3 separate regions of the Homo sapiens genome follow, and regions 1 and 2 are each linked to region 3. Evidence: promoter capture Hi-C in 16 types of primary human blood cells and fetal thymus (Javierre and others, 2016). All regions are on one chromosome and are shown on one strand. The core of a region is centred on a gene start or on the middle of the fragment in contact, and the rest is flanking DNA. Distances in the headings are between cores, read along the strand shown.

Region 1 (2,700 bases), core at 108-2,607, 800 kb before region 3:
TGAGCCCTAGAGAATGAGTAAGAGCCATCGGCAAAGCAGGGTGGGGTGGTTTTCTGGACAGTGGGGACAGCCTGAGCAGGGACACGGAGGTAGGAGCAACTGTGACCTCTGGGTCAGTCACATTGCTTCAAGTTACAAATAACCTACTTTACCCCATAAAGGGGATTTATTCCCTCATGTAACTGAAAAGTCAAGGTGAGGGTGGGGCTGCAGGTTGAGCAGGATCAGGGATTTAGCACCATTTGTTCGGGTTGTTCAGCTCTAGTCTCTTCTACACACGCTAGCAAAATAGCCAGCAGGATGTTCCACATGTCAACAACAAGCCAGCCAGAGCAAAAGAAAGTTTCTTCCCTCCCTACAGAAGCTTGGCTGGATGAATTAAGGCACATGCCCATCCCTGGATCAATTACTGGGGTAAGAGGTGGGAACCCTCTGCCAGTCAAGTGAATTGTGAGCCTATCTGTGATGATGCAGAAGTTATTCTTACTTAAATTACAGAGCTGCTCCTTGATGGGGGCAGGTGGGGAGAGAATTGGATGGGATACCTGTGGACACCACTAGGTTATAAACAAAATCTAGGTTGTCATGAAAAGTGAAAACTGGAGCAGAGACCGGATAAAAATGACGTTGCCAACTGAGCTGCAGAGCTCAGACCTTGTCCTCCATACGTTGGGCTTCTAGTTCTGGAAGCTGTAGAGGGTTGCACCCTATGCATCTTGGGCCCTGGATGTCTTCAGAAGGGCACTGTGGATTTAATATGGTTTTGGAGCTGTCCCCCTTTCTACCAAAAGGTGATCAATCTCCTTTCAACTCTAATTTTCCTGGAAAAAAATATACCCTGCTTATTGACAATCTACACCTTGAGAATGGGGAGGAATCGATCAGATTTCTTCCATTCTTCAGCATTCCAAGCAAAGACCAAAAAGACCACGCTCCAGGGCAGACGTGCAACCACAGTTGTACCATACAGAAATCCCAAGGTGTCGGTGAGAGCCAGAGGGGTCTCCGATGGGCATTTGAGAGGTACCTGTTTGCCTTCTTCAAAAGAATACTCCCCCCTTGCTCTATATCCCTCCAGCCGTAGTAATCTGAAGACCAGTTAACAAGACAGGTGTCTGCTCCAGGGTAGAGCCCCCCAACCCCCTGTTCCTGGTCCCCCAACCCCTCCCGATGTAAGGAATCAGAGGACTGTGGATTTGGACTCGGATCCTGCTCCTTCCTTTCCTTAGGCAAGTCATCTAAGCACTTTGAGTCTCAGTTTCTTCCAAGACAAAAAGGGAAACTAATATCTAGCTGACAGTATATTCTGAGGATTATCTGAAGAGATACGTATGCATGAATATCTCATCCTCTCAGCTCTTAGTGGATCATCAGAGAATATTGATTCATTCACATGTTGAAGAAGAAAAATTAAAGTTCAGCAATGGCCTAATAGATACCAGAAGCCCAGCATACATCATTTTATCTTATCTTCATAACCATTCTATAAGTAGGGGTGTTAGTATCCCACTTTGCAGAAGAAGAAACTGAGGGTCAGGAAGGTCAAATAACTTTCCCAAGGCTCCACAGCTGGGAAATCAGAACTTGAACCTGGACCATCTAAAGCCCCTTTTTATGGAACTGAGGCCAATTGGCAGAGCTTGAATGCCCAGGTAAAAGGAACCCTGGGCCACTCTCTAAGCATACCATTGTTGTTGTGCTTGTTGCTGAAATCCAAAATCTGGAAGAGAATGAAGTAGAGAGAAAGGCAAATAACATGCATTTAACAATTCCTGTGTATATTGTACCTACATGCATCACGAGCTCTTTGACAAATGTTTGTTGAGTGTGTCAATGTGCTAGGTTCTTGTTGGAAACATGGAGGGGACACCTTCTGCATCCCATAATAACCTTGCAAAGAGATGATAACATCCATTGTATGCACGCACTCAGGCTCACAAAGGTAGATAAACCATCCAGAGCCACCTGCCAGGTTGGCATGACACCAGAAGGAAGACCACGGAATACGTCCTGGTGGAGATGTGGAGAGAAACATTTTTTATAGCAGGATCACAGAATCTCACGCTGTTTTCTTCCTCCTTTTCTTTGCAGATGACAGACAACCTTCTGTGCCTTCATCAAGCTGGTTGTGTACCCACCATGTCCCTGGCGACAGGATGGGAAAGAAAAAGCCCTAATTAAGGATCGTCAGAAACCACAGTTGGAGGAGGACGGCAGAGACAGTTTCCCTCCCCGCTATACCAACACCCTTCCTTCGAGGTCCTCGCTCCTGAGGGACCCTGGACTGTCACAGAGATTAATGACCCCTTATCTTCTTTGGATGTGAAAGGAAATCACTGGTTAAAGCTTGATCGAGAGACATTATCAGCTCTTTAAGGATTGCAGAAGAATAGGCTACTTTATTTTCTGAAAAGGTAAATATATGCAAGCAAAGCCAACATGCCACGAATGGCGTTGGTCTACCACACAGCCGTGTCTGGGACACAGTTGGGGGTCATCCCCCAGCAGGAGTGAAGTCGAGCTTAGCGGCCCTTGTGTCCTCCCTTGGAATTCCTGCCATCCCTTTTGATTGAGCCTCCACCTCTGGGATTTTTCTTCCATTTTTCTCCTCTCTTAGGAGGGAGTTCCTGCTACCCATCGTGGGAGGCCACCATCAGGACTGCGAAGATGGTGACCCTGCGGAAGAGGACCCTGAAAGTG
Region 2 (2,700 bases), core at 6-2,505, 780 kb before region 3:
CCAGGAACGTAGAGAAGGGTTTTTAATGAAGGGTTAGTCAGAGTCCTTGGAAATGCTGTTTATGGTCCTGTGGGATTCCAGGAACGCCTACAGGCTTCCTTTCTCAGAGGTGCCACCAGCAGCCCTGCTGTCTGGTTCTCATCTTTGCTTTGCTCCCACAGGTGGACTTGTACGGCTTCGGGGCAGACAGCAAAGGGAACTGGCACCACTACTGGGAGAACAACCCATCCGCGGGGGCTTTTCGCAAGACGGGGGTGCACGATGCAGACTTTGAGTCTAACGTGACGGCCACCTTGGCCTCCATCAATAAAATCCGGATCTTCAAGGGGAGATGACGCAGTGAAGGGCTGAGGATGGACGCACTGTCACACCTCTGCATTTCCAGCCCCAGCATCTTGCTGGAGCCGTTCCATCCCGGAGCTTGGAGGGGCAGCCTCAGGTGTGTGCCTGGGCACCGCTCACAGCCTCTTGCACCCAGCCGTTGGCAGCATCTACTCAGCAAGGTCACTAAGCTCTGCCAGCGTGGCAGAGCATGTCTTGGAACCTGTCTTGAGTGGGGACAACGTCCCCCCACTGCTGCCCTAGAGCTGGGGAGACGCTGGGAAAGGTTCAACCTCCACACACTAAAATCATTTTGGCTCCTGGGGCAAGCTTGGGGAATGAATGTGGAAGATGCCTATATTCTGAGAGACAGGACAGTTTCCCAGGAAGATGGGCAGAGACTTGAGTGGCGATTACCTCCAGCACAGAGACGTGCCAGGCGGTGTTGGCGCTCGGGGCGAGATGCTGCCCTTCTTTGCACGAAGCCTGGCCTCTTGCTTGGCGTGATAACCCTGTCATCTTCCCAAAGCTCATTTATGAGCCACCAGAGGCTCCTACCCCAAAGATTTTCACAGAAACTTGAGGCCAGGTGCCGTGGCTCACACCTGTAATCTGAACACTTTGGGAGGCCGAGGCGGGAGGATCACTTGAGCCCAGGAGTTCAAGACCAGCCTGGGCAACATAGTGAGACTCCTGTCTCTACAAAAATAAAAGATTTAAAAAAATTAGCCAGGCACGGTGGCACACACTTGTAGCCCCAGCTACTAGGGAGGCTGAGGAGGGAGGATCTCTTGTGCCTAGGAGTTCGAGGCTGCAGTGGGCTGTGATCACACCACTGCACTCCAGCCTGGGCAACAGAGTGAGACCCTGTCTCTGAAAAAAAAAAAAAAAGAAAAGAAAAAAAACCCCAAACTTGGCACCGTGTTTCTGACTCCTGCAGATGCCTCTTCCCAAGCAGTTGTTCCTTTGAGTAGTCAGTCTCATGGTTCTAATCGTGGCGAGAGCGGATCTGACCACTTCCATGTGCCTTTGTATTTGGGAAAGAAAAGCATGCATTGGCTGAAATGAAACAAAAGCCCTTACTTGGGAAAAGGGACCCCCACCAGCGGCCCTGCTTGCTCCGTAGCTGGGAACATCTTTTCTGGTTTCCTGAGCCAGCACCTGAATTGCAACGAAGCTCTGAGGATACTCAACACCACCCAGCAGTGCGTCAGAATGGAACGTACATTCTCATTCTCAGACTGTTCAATATGGTGCCCGTAACCTCCAAAGCCACACAGGAGGCTGCCAGCAGCATTTTCCCCAAGGGCCTGAGCTCAGGGTCAAGTCCCTGCTGGCCATCTTGGGGCTGTCACTGGGGGTCTGGGTCAAGGACATCCCAGGAATGGTAACTGCCACATACCTCATCTTCTTACTCCCCAGCTACTCTCTTTTCCTCATTAGCCTTCCTGATTATTTATTGATTTCTTTTTTTTATTCAACTGACATTGTTTGCACCCTGGCTCTGTTGGTGGTCCTGGTGTTTTAATGAAGCTTGCCTCACCCAGTAGCTGGGAAATTAGGTGGGGGTGCTTAAGGGAGGTTTGTAGGAGTCCTCGGACGTGGGATATTGGGGGTATCTAGGGCTTGGATGGTTTGTGGAATGTCCTCAGCATCCTCCCGTCCCAACCCAACCTTCCTTCTTCCTCATTGTGGACTTGGATTTATTCTCAGGCTAGGAGTCTCCAAAACTCCGTGAAACCTTATTGCTGCTGGGTGTGGAGTGGAGAGTGACAGGAATGTGGGGGACGGTGATTGTTGGCTCCAGTTACTAATGTTTAAGCAGAAAAACCACTTTCTTGTTGAAAATATCCCTGAAAAGGTCGCTGCTGCTTTGAGGAGGCGTGACTTTTTCCTGGTGGAGTGTGACGGAGGCATGGGGCCTGTGCTCCCAGGCTCGGGGGAGCCCCCTCTGCACACGGGGAGGGAGGAACTTGGGGACATCAGTCATGGGTCACAGGTGGCTTCAGGCCATTCACAAGAGTCCCCGGAAGTTGCGTGCCAAGTTTGGTTTTTTCCCTGAATCTCTGCATATGAGCATTTTTCTGGAGAAAGGACCATAGCTTTTATTAGATTCTCAAAGGTTCAGAATGGGGAATGTGTTAAACAAACCGAAAACCTGTTTCAGCTTTAAAATCCTCCAAAACTTTAAAGACTTTTCTTTTTTCTGAGAAAGGCTGGTAAATCACTGAGTCATCATTCAGAACATACAGCCTCGAAGGGCAGAGCTCACACCCATATATGACGTTAAGAGCTCAACAAATGTTTGTTGAGTGACTGAGTGACCCCAGGGGCAGACTCCAGATCATCAGACACTGATACAGAGAGCGATGCTATCTC
Region 3 (2,700 bases), core at 148-2,647:
TCAGAAAAATAATAGTGGATGTCAGGTAAGTTTATAGTTTGAGTGCCTTTTGGGAGGCCTCCTTGGAAATCCAAATATTCAGGGAAATAGTGCCTGAAATCCCACTCTTCCAGTTCAGTTCCTTTGGCCTGGCATTTAAGGCCCCCATTACCCCCGATCTAATCTCTCATTCTTACTGTTCGAAGATCCCTTCTATCTAGCTCTCTTTATTGCCAAACTGATGTTTCTGCTTCCCCCCATCACCTCACTCTGTTAGACTTTCCTGCCTCTCTGTCCAAGTTCATGACCTTGTCTCTACCTGGCAAACTCTAATAATTGCCAGCTGTAAATGCTTAACAGCTATTCGCTAGAAAAATTAATTTCTTTGCACTCAGCATTGCTCTAGGAATCTTCTTTTAAAATGCAAACATAATACACACATCAAGATAAGAAGCACGCACTCCATACTGTTTAAAACGACTGGGATGGGAGAAGGTTTTACCTTTTACATATTGCCCCCCTCCTTTTTCTGCAAATGGAGTAAAGAATAATAATTACTTTCATAATAATGGTACCTTTTAAAGATTCTTGGGAAGCTAACGCATTAAAGTGCTAACACTAAGATCTGAGGGTGAATGAGCTTGCTGATGTGCTTCCTAGTTTAGAATGGGAGAAGGCGCGTTGCACACTTTTGGAGAAGGGTCTGGGGAAACGTGAGGGGAGTGTGGGGCTGTAGGAGATATACTTCCTACATTTTACAATTAAGAGAGTGGAGAATAGGGAAATTGATGGAGGGGGTAATGGGTGGCGTTTCTGGAAAGCTTGTTAGCCGGAAACGAGTGTTGGAGAGTGACTTTAAAAAGCTGGAATATGACAACGACAACGAATCTTTATAGTGAGCCTGTTGTTTTCATAGTGTCTTTCATTCACTCAAATTATCTAATTAAAGCTTCACAGTGATCCTCTTAGGTTATTTCTCATCTTACAGATGTGCAAACTGAGGAGAAGGAAGTGTAAGGTCACGCCGCTGGTAGAGTTGGGGGCCAAATCCAGATCTGTTGGCTCTGGAAGCTGTAAATCAAACACAAAAAGGAAAAAGTCAAAGGCGGTCTGGAAGGCAAGCCTGGAAGGCACAGAAAAGAGAAGCGTCCTCATACTTTGTTCACTCTAAACCATTGATTCAGGGAGAGGGAAGCAGTCTGTGGCAAGTCGGAAGTGCGACGAGGACGAAGACTGGGTTTGGGTTGGGGAACCCCTGTCTGCTGAGCCCCTTCACTGCGGTCTCCTCTGCTTGCTCCGCGGAGCTCAGGAAACGCGGCTTGTTTTGGTCCCGCGCGGCCGCCGTAGAGTCCCCGTTGCCATGGCTCCTGAATTCCGACGGGGACGCGCTGAGGAGCAGGGGTGAAGGGTGAAAAGCGTCATTCGAGGTCCGGGTCCGGCTTGCGGGGTCAGCGAACTGGAGAGGCGCCATGGGCTGGAGTAAGCCCCCCTCCACCTTCCGTCCTCGATCGTTCCCCTTGTGGAAGTAGTCCCGGGTCTCGTGGGATCCTCGCCGCCCGCTCCCGCCCTGCGCTGTCGGTTCCCCCGCGCCTGGGCGGACCCTAACCCCACCCGGCCCTCCGCACCGCAGCCCCGGCTGCACCAGGTCCTCTGCAGACTGGCCGGACAGCCTGGCCTTTTCCAGCTCAGGTTCCTAATCTGTAAAATGGGCGGGGCCGTGGGAAGGGGAGGAAGAGGCAGAAAGGCACTGGACTCCAGGAAAGGGGTCGGGGAACGTGCAGGGGTTTTGGCGCCAGACACACCACGTTCCGGCCAAGTGGCTCCTTACTGGCTGTGAACGTGGGCCAGTCACTGTCTCCAAGCCGCAATCTTCGGACTCATTCCGGAAGGCAGTGTAGCCTAATGGTGGAGGGTTCCGACTCTGGAGCCAGGGTTGAAGTCCTCCCTCTTCCTGTGACTTTGAGCGAGTGACTTCACCCCTTGGGCCTCAGCTTCTTCATCTCCAAAATAATGGCAATCATACTACTGTTTTAGACACAGTAAGTGTTATAAACGTGTTTTTGTTTGTTTGTTTGAGACAAGAGTTTTGCTCTGTCGCCCAGGCTGGAGTGCAGCGGCGCGATCTCGGCCCACTGCAGCCTCCGCCTCCCGGGTTCAAGCAATTCTCCTGCCTCAGCCACCTGAGTAGCTGGGATTACAGCGTGCACCACCACGCCAGGCTAATTTTTGTATTCTTAGTAGAGACGGGGTTTTGCCATGTTGGCCAGGCTGGTCTCGAACTCCTGACCTCAGGTGATCCGCCCGCCTCGGCCTCTCAAAGTGCTGCGATTACAGGCGTGAGCCACTGCGCCCGGTAGTAAACGTGTTTCTTTAAGAATATACTAACAAACTGCAAGGTGATGCGGGTAAGTTATTTATATTGTATGAACCATTTTGATATCGACAACGTTTTTGAGCTCCCCATATGGCAGTTTTGTACAGCTCTACCTAATTGATCACTTATCATTGTAAAAATGTCATAATTAACTTTTTTTAAATCAAGAGACTGCTCCAGATGATGGGCTTTCTGCCCTGGAAGACCTGACAGCCTGCAAGTGGGAGAGGTGGGGGTCGGGGGGGAGTGATTTGTAAATGTTGAAACTCCTTTCCTAAATCAGCTACTGATATTTCTTCCTCTCTTCTCAGGGCTGTCTCCCCATCCCCTGGTCTCACCCTAGTTGG

The links. Contacts are between HindIII fragments. The CHiCAGO score rates a contact against its expected background, and 5 or more counts as called.
Region 1: a fragment that was not itself captured here is called in contact with the fragment with the promoter of DNAAF11 in region 3 in 1 of 17 cell types (fetal thymus); the score reaches 5.4 in fetal thymus.
Region 2: a contact is called between a fragment that was not itself captured here and the fragment with the promoter of DNAAF11 in region 3, in 2 of 17 cell types (fetal thymus and activated CD4 T cells). The highest score is 5.3, in fetal thymus.

Annotation. Positions count from the first base shown.
Region 1 is chr8:133,475,992-133,478,691 of GRCh38, reverse strand. ST3GAL1 (ST3 beta-galactoside alpha-2,3-sialyltransferase 1) reads left to right here. Exons shown (of 10, transcript NM_173344.3): 4 at 2,092-2,414; 5 at 2,618-2,700. The coding sequence starts at 2,668. Among named protein-coding and RNA genes, the nearest start is that of ST3GAL1-DT, 93 kb to the left of the region's middle. The HindIII fragment of the contact is 1,982 bases long and covers 367-2,348 here.
Region 2 is chr8:133,457,399-133,460,098 of GRCh38, reverse strand. It overlaps ST3GAL1 (ST3 beta-galactoside alpha-2,3-sialyltransferase 1), which reads left to right. Exons shown (of 10, transcript NM_173344.3): 10 at 162-2,700. The coding sequence ends at 335. Among named protein-coding and RNA genes, the nearest start is that of ST3GAL1-DT, 110 kb to the left of the region's middle. The HindIII fragment of the contact is 1,203 bases long and covers 654-1,856 here.
Region 3 is chr8:132,674,242-132,676,941 of GRCh38, reverse strand. DNAAF11 (dynein axonemal assembly factor 11) reads left to right here and starts at 1,397. Exons shown (of 12, transcript NM_012472.6): 1 at 1,397-1,458. The coding sequence starts at 1,449. LOC105375767 (a long non-coding RNA gene) reads right to left here and starts at 1,312. Exons shown (of 2, transcript XR_928665.4): 1 at 1,137-1,312; 2 at 884-1,050. The HindIII fragment of the contact is 7,589 bases long and covers 931-2,700 here.